3 separate regions of the Homo sapiens genome follow, and regions 2 and 3 are each linked to region 1. Evidence: promoter capture Hi-C in 16 types of primary human blood cells and fetal thymus (Javierre and others, 2016). All regions are on one chromosome and are shown on one strand. The core of a region is centred on a gene start or on the middle of the fragment in contact, and the rest is flanking DNA. Distances in the headings are between cores, read along the strand shown.

What was found. The method cuts DNA at HindIII sites, captures the fragments that hold promoters and counts their contacts. A CHiCAGO score of 5 or more calls a contact.
Region 2: a contact is called between a fragment that was not itself captured here and the fragment with the promoter of CLMN in region 1, in 5 of 17 cell types (M0 macrophages, M1 macrophages, monocytes and 2 more). The highest score is 7.6, in M0 macrophages.
Region 3: a fragment that was not itself captured here is called in contact with the fragment with the promoter of CLMN in region 1 in 5 of 17 cell types (monocytes, total B cells, naive B cells and 2 more); the score reaches 7.1 in monocytes.

The regions. Positions count from the first base shown.
Region 1 is chr14:95,318,566-95,321,195 of GRCh38, reverse strand. It overlaps CLMN (calmin), which reads left to right and starts at 1,288. Exons shown (of 13, transcript NM_024734.4): 1 at 1,288-1,485. The coding sequence starts at 1,404. RefSeq lists a silencer at 1,308-1,567 and enhancers at 2,198-2,277, 2,298-2,417. The HindIII fragment of the contact is 9,635 bases long and covers 1-2,630 here.
Region 2 is chr14:95,124,481-95,127,110 of GRCh38, reverse strand. DICER1 (dicer 1, ribonuclease III) reads left to right here. Exons shown (of 27, transcript NM_177438.3): 7 at 363-531; 8 at 2,443-2,630. Among named protein-coding and RNA genes, the nearest start is that of MIR3173, 12 kb to the left of the region's middle. The HindIII fragment of the contact is 1,609 bases long and covers 576-2,184 here.
Region 3 is chr14:95,147,641-95,150,270 of GRCh38, reverse strand. The region is part of intron 1 of DICER1 (dicer 1, ribonuclease III); the gene reads left to right. Among named protein-coding and RNA genes, the nearest start is that of DICER1, 8.6 kb to the left of the region's middle. The HindIII fragment of the contact is 1,583 bases long and covers 504-2,086 here.

The DNA.
Region 1 (2,630 bases), core at 39-2,538:
TGGAGGGTAGACTCACCCTCCTTCAGGGCCCTGCCTCAAGGGCACAGGTCTGTCCTTCGGGGGACCTCCATAGTTACTGGGTAATTAGTGAGCAGCCGGGTTTCCGGGATTCATTGCTGTGAACAGAGCAGCGATGCACACAGGCCCATGTGTTTAAATGCCCAGTGAGCCCTGTCCATTTTTTTCCCCCTCTTGGAACACTGAATATTTAAAGCCATTTTCTTTGTGGCCTTAGTTGTCACAGAAAGGGCCCAAGCACTGAGCTGGGAGCAGGGGGCTGGGACTTCCTGCTCCTAAGTCATTCCTCAACCTTGGGCAAATTCGGTAACTGTAGGGTCTCACTTTTAAGGAGTGTAAACCACATGGTGGGCACCAAACAGGATAAGATCCTGGAATTCTCTAGAGTTCAACAGTGGAGGTGGGGAGGGAGGGGACCGGAAGGCCTGTCCTGGCATTTTCAGTAGTCTCCACAGGAAGTTCTGTCCTGGCATTTTCACTAATTTCCAGTGACCCCACAGAGGGTCACTTGGAGACTCAGTGGCCAGAGACCCCACAGCGTACCCCAGCTCCTAGGAGTTGGCCTGCTTCTTGTTCCTTCCTAGAAGCTGGAGTCACATTACTGGACCGGAAAAGGCTCCTAGTATCTAAACCAACGAAGAAGGCCCTTCTTTCACAGCCCCCCCGCACTTTGGAGACTCCCACAACTTTACCTCCACACTAGTTTGCCCCCCGACCCAGGCCCTCGACACTCCCCACGCAGGGCTCCCAGGATTCGGGGATGGGCAGGGCTCGGGTCCTGGTCCCTCCAAGTGGGGGCTGCCTCTCCAGAGTGGACAGGGGACCCGCGGAGGGGGTGTCTTATCCCGGACGGGAGGGAGACGCTGCCTCCTGGACCAGGTACTGGGACCCACGGGCCCACCCCCAGTTGCGTCACCCGGCCCACCGCCCCCTGAGACATCACAATCTGGGGGCCGGGACCCGCGCCTCATCACAGCCGGTTTGTAACCAAACAATCCAACCTACAAACACCCCGGAAAGAAAAAAAACACAAGCTGGCCTGACCCAGCCTCCCGCCCCTGCCCCGCCCCGCCCCGCCCCTCGCCCCTCGCCCCTCGCTCCTCAGGGCCCCCGCCCCCGCACGGGGGAGTGAGAGCGAGCCCGCCGCCCCGCACCCGCCGCCCCGCGCTCGCTCGCGCCAGCCCGCGGCGGGGGCGGCCCCGACCGCGCCGCCCGCCCCTCCCCGCCCCGCCCCGCCCCGCCCGCGCCCGCGCCCCGCCCGCGCCCGCCGCGACTCCAGCTCCGCGGCGCCCTCGCCGGGTGCGTGCCGCTCGCGCGCCCGCCAGCCAGGCTCTCCGCGCCCGCCGCCCGCGCCGCGCTGGCCCGGGCTCTCCCGCCCGCGCTTCATGGCTGCACACGAGTGGGACTGGTTCCAACGCGAGGAGCTCATCGGGCAGATTAGCGACATCCGAGTGCAGAACCTGCAAGGTAACGCAGCCCAGGCTCGCCCCGGGATGGCTGGGCGCTCGGGGGGCCCGGGGCGCCGCTCCGACACTTGGCAACTCCCCCGCGCCGCCCCCGCTCGCCGGCCGCTCGTTGTTCCTGTCACTTGCCTCGAGGTGGGAGGCTGGGGTTGGATACCCGCCCCCAAGCCCCAGGGCGGCCAGCCGCGGCCAGGTTTACAGTTGCCCAGGGGGTGGGGCGCCACACGTGTGTGTGTTGTGGGGCGAGGGCTCGCATTTTCATTAGGGGGACGTCACCACCCCCTCCAGTCACCGCTGCGAGTTTGGAGAAGTTTGTACGTGGGCTCTTGGGGGCGGTGGCCCAGGTTAGGGAGGGGAGGAGACAGTGCGACTCTGTGTGTGTGTGTGTGTGTGTGTGTGTGTGTGTGTGTGAGTTCGCGCACTTCCTAAGTACCTTCGAGGCAAGGGGAATTGAATGGTGGGCGGCGCTTCAGGGGGTGAGTTGGGGAAAGCGGGGCCAGGGGTGCGGATCGGATCGGTGGGGTCAGGCAAGCACCCAACTCCAGCGGCCACTTTGCTTAGGGAGCTGCCCCTCCCCTGCAGGATCAGGACTCTAACTGGGGAGAGGGCGAGAGCCCCACCCTTCCCCCACGCTGGCCCCCAACTCCGACCCTGCCTGGGCACAGGACACTGGGACCAAGGCTTCTACCTGGGAGGTAGCTGAGAAGAGGTGAAAGAGAAACTCCAGTGGTGGAGAGCGGCTGGGTATGGCGGTGCCACACATGAAGTGTGTTTCTCTTTCAAAAGAATTTATTCAATGTGGAAACTTAGAAAGCACAAAAATATTTGAAGGAAAAAAGTCACCCATAATTTCCCCTCCACAACCTATCCACCCAACAGACAGGTGTTCTTCATGGAACTGTATCTCCAGCTTCTTTTTTTTCATATATGGGCTTTGCAGAACTAGACAGAACACCACTTCCGGCCCTTCTTCACCCACATTGACCTGTGCAGGTGAAGTTTCTGTAGCTGCTTCCCCTGCTGGCTTGGGTTTCTAGAGGGTTCAAGGTTAGGAGTGGCTAGGAGCGAGCTGGGAGGCCTGGGCAGAGAGGCGATGGGGCTGTGGGTGCCCTCCCCCAGCCAGGGCAGCGACTTTACTGTTATAGGGTA
Region 2 (2,630 bases), core at 131-2,630, 190 kb after region 1:
CGTCATCCTCCCTGTGTGTGGATTCAGTTAGAAGGTATGTAAATTCCCAGCATCATGCTTGGGGATGCAGTGGATGCTCATTTGTATTCTTTTCTTTCCCCTCTTCTCCCCTTGCCTTTTGAAAACATCTTTTAAACAACACTTTACTGGTTTATAAAATACATTATTTACTGTTGAGAAATATGGTAATATAGAAAAATAATAATTAAACACCTAAAATCTCACCCCACTGCTAACATTCTGGCATTTTTTTTTTTTTTTAGTATCTATTCCCTTTTTTTTTTTTTTGCTTTTTGAAAAACTTTTTTTAAATTGCATTCTCACTACTGCAGTATTGATACCTTTTGTTTCTTATGTTAAAGGTATACTTCTCAGCCATGTGAGATTGTGGTGGATTGTGGACCATTTACTGACAGAAGTGGGCTTTATGAAAGACTGCTGATGGAATTAGAAGAAGCACTTAATTTTATCAATGATTGTAATATATCTGTACATTCAAAAGAAAGAGATTCTACTTTAATTTCGAAACAGGTAAGCATATACCAAGTAGGTATAGTGATTATATTTTGAAAGCTTTGTTAATTTTTAATATTGAAATGAAAATATGCTTAATGCGGCTCTTTTCTTTGCATTTTAGTTTAAGGTCTTAATCTTTTTAGACATTTTTCATTGAACATACCATATTAGGTTGAGTTCATTGTTATCCAGTGCACATTTATATTAAGTGTAGACTTCCCCTATTTAAGGAGCTGAGCTAGGATTCATGTCATGGTTATTTAAGTATAAGGAGTGAGTCCAATTTTTGTTTCTTTTTGGTCAGAAGAGTTAGTTCCTGTTCAAACCCTTGAATTAAACAAATTCTTCCGCAGTTTCCTAGTGTGTGTAACTGGATATGAGCCTATTGTCTCTCAGTGGTACTGCTTTGAGAAGAGATCCCTTAGGACAGTGATCCTTCCATTGTGGGCCCCACATCATCATCAGCAGCATCTGGGTGGGGTCCTCAGGACTGAATTTTACTGTTTGCAGTCTTCAGTTTTGAATTTCGATAAGCCCTCCAGTAATCTGATTCATTAAAGCTCGAGAACCACTGCCCTAGAACTTTGCAACCATTTGTGAATGTTAACACTGTATTAAATGTGGGTCTTAGTTTCTCTCCTGATGATTTTTTTCTTCTCGAGCAGCAGTGCCCACATTTTTCTCAATCTTTGCATTCTTTCTTCCTTTCCTTTTCCCTTCCCTTTCCTTTCCTCTTTCCTTTTCTTTCTTTTCTTTCCTGTCTTTTTTTCCTCTCTCTCTCTCTTTCTCTCCTCTCCTCTTTCTGTACCTCCCCTCCCTCCCCCTCCCCTCCCCCTCCTCCCCTCCCTGTCTTCCTCCCCTCCCCCTCTTCCTCCCCTCCTCCTCCCTCTCCCCTCCCTCCTCCCCCTCCCTGTCCCCTCCCTCCTCCCCCCATCTCTGCCTCCTCTCCTCCTCCCCCTCCTCCCCCTCCTCCTCTCCCCTTCTCCCTCTCTTCCTCTCCCCTCCTCCTCCCCTTCCCCCACCTTTCCCCTCTCCCTCCCCCGACCTTCTCCCTCTCCCTCTCTCCCTCTCTGCCTCTCTGCCTCTCTCCCTCTCCCTCAATTCCTCAGTTACACCCTGGCCATGGATTGACTTTCGGCTCTCAATTAGAGTTGTAAGATGCAGCACTCTGGGAGGGTCCAGGATCAGAGTCTGAATTTAGCTGAGATGTTAATGTTGAGGAGCCCTGACCTTGTGGTGGTGTTTTCATTGAAATCGGATAACAGGGGCTTTTGGAGAACTGTGACAGAGTGTGTGGAGGCTGCCCCAGTGCAGCTGTCCTAGCTCCTTTTCCACTTCCAACCAATAAAGGCCTTTCCTACTGTTTAGAAAGAAAGAAAGAAAAAAGAAATGATGATAGAGACAGCTGTGCAGTGTTTTTACAACAGTCTCACCGTGGCATCCAGAGGTGCTGACTGTAGATCGACCAAAATTCATCCACAGTTTCTAGTCAGTATAGTGGAAAACATATAATGCTGGAGAATATTGTACATAAAGTTCAAGGAAAACTGTATTGCTCTTCCTTGATGCCTAAAGTTAAATTACTGTGCTACATAAATTTTATGTAATTTGGCAGGAAGTAAATGACTCAGGTATAGTTTTAACTAATTACAGATCTAAAAATAAGCTTCATTAACCTCATACAATTGCATCTTTTAATTTCTGTTTGATTATTTTATTGAAAAAAGGAGATGGTTCTAGGCATATACATACGAAATGAGCTTGAAAAGGCTAATGGCCTCTCCCCCCACCTTCAGGGACTTAACCTAAGGCTGGGTTACATTTAAGGAGCCATTTGAGAACAACTGAAATCCCAGTTAAACCCCACATGAAAATGCTACATTATTATTATTTGGCATTAGGTTTTTTCTTTTCTTTTTTTTGTAGATACTATCAGACTGTCGTGCCGTATTGGTAGTTCTGGGACCCTGGTGTGCAGATAAAGTAGCTGGAATGATGGTAAGAGAACTACAGAAATACATCAAACATGAGCAAGAGGAGCTGCACAGGAAATTTTTATTGTTTACAGACACTTTCCTAAGGAAAATACATGCACTATGTGAAGAGCACTTCTC
Region 3 (2,630 bases), core at 46-2,545, 170 kb after region 1:
CTCAAGTGATTCACCTGTCTCTGCCTCCCAAAGTGCTGGGATTGCAGGCATGAGCCACCGTGCCCGGCCTACAAAATACAGTTTGTAAAATGAGAAACTAAGTTGAGAAATAAGACTGTCTTGAGTTGGGTTTTCCCAGTTGCACCTGTAACTTTAAGAACTTTAAAATTGTTTCTGAAACATCTTCAAGGTTGGAGTCAGATTAGTTTGCATTAATATGGAAGAGAATTTTGTAGTGGTTGGAAGTTAACTGAGAAAACTAGGATGGGTATAGTCAGATGATACCAAAATTATCATTGCACTAACTGATACCTCTCTAGCTTTGACAGTTTCTAGTTAGCCTCGAATTATTCTTTTGGACTTGGGTGCCAAGATCGAGGATGTTAAGCTTGTTGAAATAATTTGGGTTGTTTAAAGTCTTTTAATTTAAAAGTGTCTAATTTGAGTTTTATATTTGACCTATAAAAAGCTGCTTTAATTCAATAGTTAAGATCAATAAAGCTTATTCTCAACATCGAATTAATTAATAAAAAATTATTCATGGATATTTACTTTCCTACATTCCAAACTACCTAGTCATTACAAATTTACAGTAACGTGAAAATCAAACAAATCATGAACTATGTAATATGAATGTGAGTATAGTATGAGATTATCTTTCAAAGATCTTAATACTCTTGAGGGAGATGGCAATAACAGCTAATATATGGGGCAGTAATATAATGAAGCCCGTGATGATTTGGGTGTTGTAGCTAGCCCATGTGTGCTAAATGAGAGGGGAGGGGACTAAAGTGATAGAGGTTTTTAGGGAAAGTTGTGGGGTGGGGTTCGTGAGAGGTGGCGAACTCTGTTGGTACACACTTGTTTTGGTGTTACGGGAAAGGCAGATAACATGAGATGTTGCGCAGAAGCTATGATGATGTAGTGCGTCACACTCTTGCCTGGACCTTTTAATATATTTGCTTTCCTGTCTCAATAAACATCCATCTTAACTCAGTAGTCTCTTATGTTCATTTTGTCTCTGGATTGACCTCCCTTTAGTATTTAAGTATTCATGTTATATATCTTAAAACAGCTTGACAAAGAGAAAATTGTGGCTCCTTTTTCCCAATGGATGCTCTTTCTTGGTGTAAAGGTAGAGGGTAGTCGTGAATTGAATAAAATTCTAGCACTCGTTGCACAGTGTTAAGAGTAAAGTATGTGCCTGTAGTCTCAGCTGCTCAGGAGGCTGAGATGGCAGGATCACTTGAGCCCAGGAGTTCAAGGCTGTAATGTGCTCTGATGGTGCCTGTAAATAGACAGAGTGAGACCCTGTCTCCAAATAAAAAATAAAAAAAAAGAGTAAAGTACAGAAACTTGGAATCAAATATGAACCTTAAAACTCACCTTGAAAGCTAGTGATGTGTTAAGTATTTATGTCTCTTGAAACAAAACTGTAGGACAAATGTCATTATAGGTAACTTGAAGGGGAGGGGTGGGTATCTGTGCTGTTTTGATGTGTTGAAATGTCATCTTTCTGAGAAGTACTCCAAGAAGTAAGCGGACCTTTGGCTTGCAGCCTGGAGACACTTCTTATATGGAGATCTTTGATGGGTGGAATTTGTTAAGATGGTATTTGACCTGTGTTCCACTTCAATTTTGGACCAATCTAATTTTAGGCATGATTATATTGAAATCTAAACATAACATATTTATGTTAGAGATTTAGAGAAACCCAGAAATTTATTTGGTTCAGATACAGTAATGCATGAAAAGAAGGCTAATGAATTTGTGGTTTAAATTGTAGGTACTATGATACTGTAAAATATATATTTGGTCTGTCCTCTACCCTATTCTTAGGCATACAAGGCTTGAAATCCTTAGAATCTCCAAAGTGATGTGTTTTTGTATGCTAATGATCGACTGGTGGCCGGTAGCTCCTGGTAGCTTCAAAATGGGGGCTGGTTACTGGGAAGACTAAGGCATGATTAGAGGTTTGGACTCAGACCCACCCTCCAACCTCTGGGGAGGGAAGAGGGGCTGAAGGTTAATCATGCCCAGGTAATGAGTCTTCATAAAAACCCTGAAGGACAGAGTTTGGAAAGCTTCTGGATAGTTGAACACATGGAGGTTCCTGGAGGGCAGTTTGCTCTGGGAGGGCTTGGAAGCTCTATACCCCTTCTCCATACCTAACCCTGTGCATGTCTTCATCTGGATCTTTGTAATATCCTTTACCTAATTAATTTACTTATTTTTATTGAGATGGACTCTCGCTGTGTTGACCAGGCCGGTCTCGAACTGCTGGCCTCAAGCGATCCTCCCATCTTGGCCTTCCAAAGTGCTAGGATTACAGGCGTGTGCCACTGCACCCAGCCTGTAATATCCTTTATAATAAACTGGTAAACATAAGTAAGTTTTTCCCCAAGGACTGTGAGCTGGTCTAGCAAGTTAAATCCCAGGAGGGCGTTGTGGGAACCCCAGTTAACTGATTGGTCGGGAGCACGGGCAAAAAATAACCTGAGGTTTGCAATTGACACGGAAGGGTGGGGGAGGTCTTGAGGACTGGAGCCCTCAACCTGTGGGATCTGATGCTATCTCCAGGTAGATAATGTTGGAATTCAGTCATTAATAGAAGACACCCAGCTGGTGTC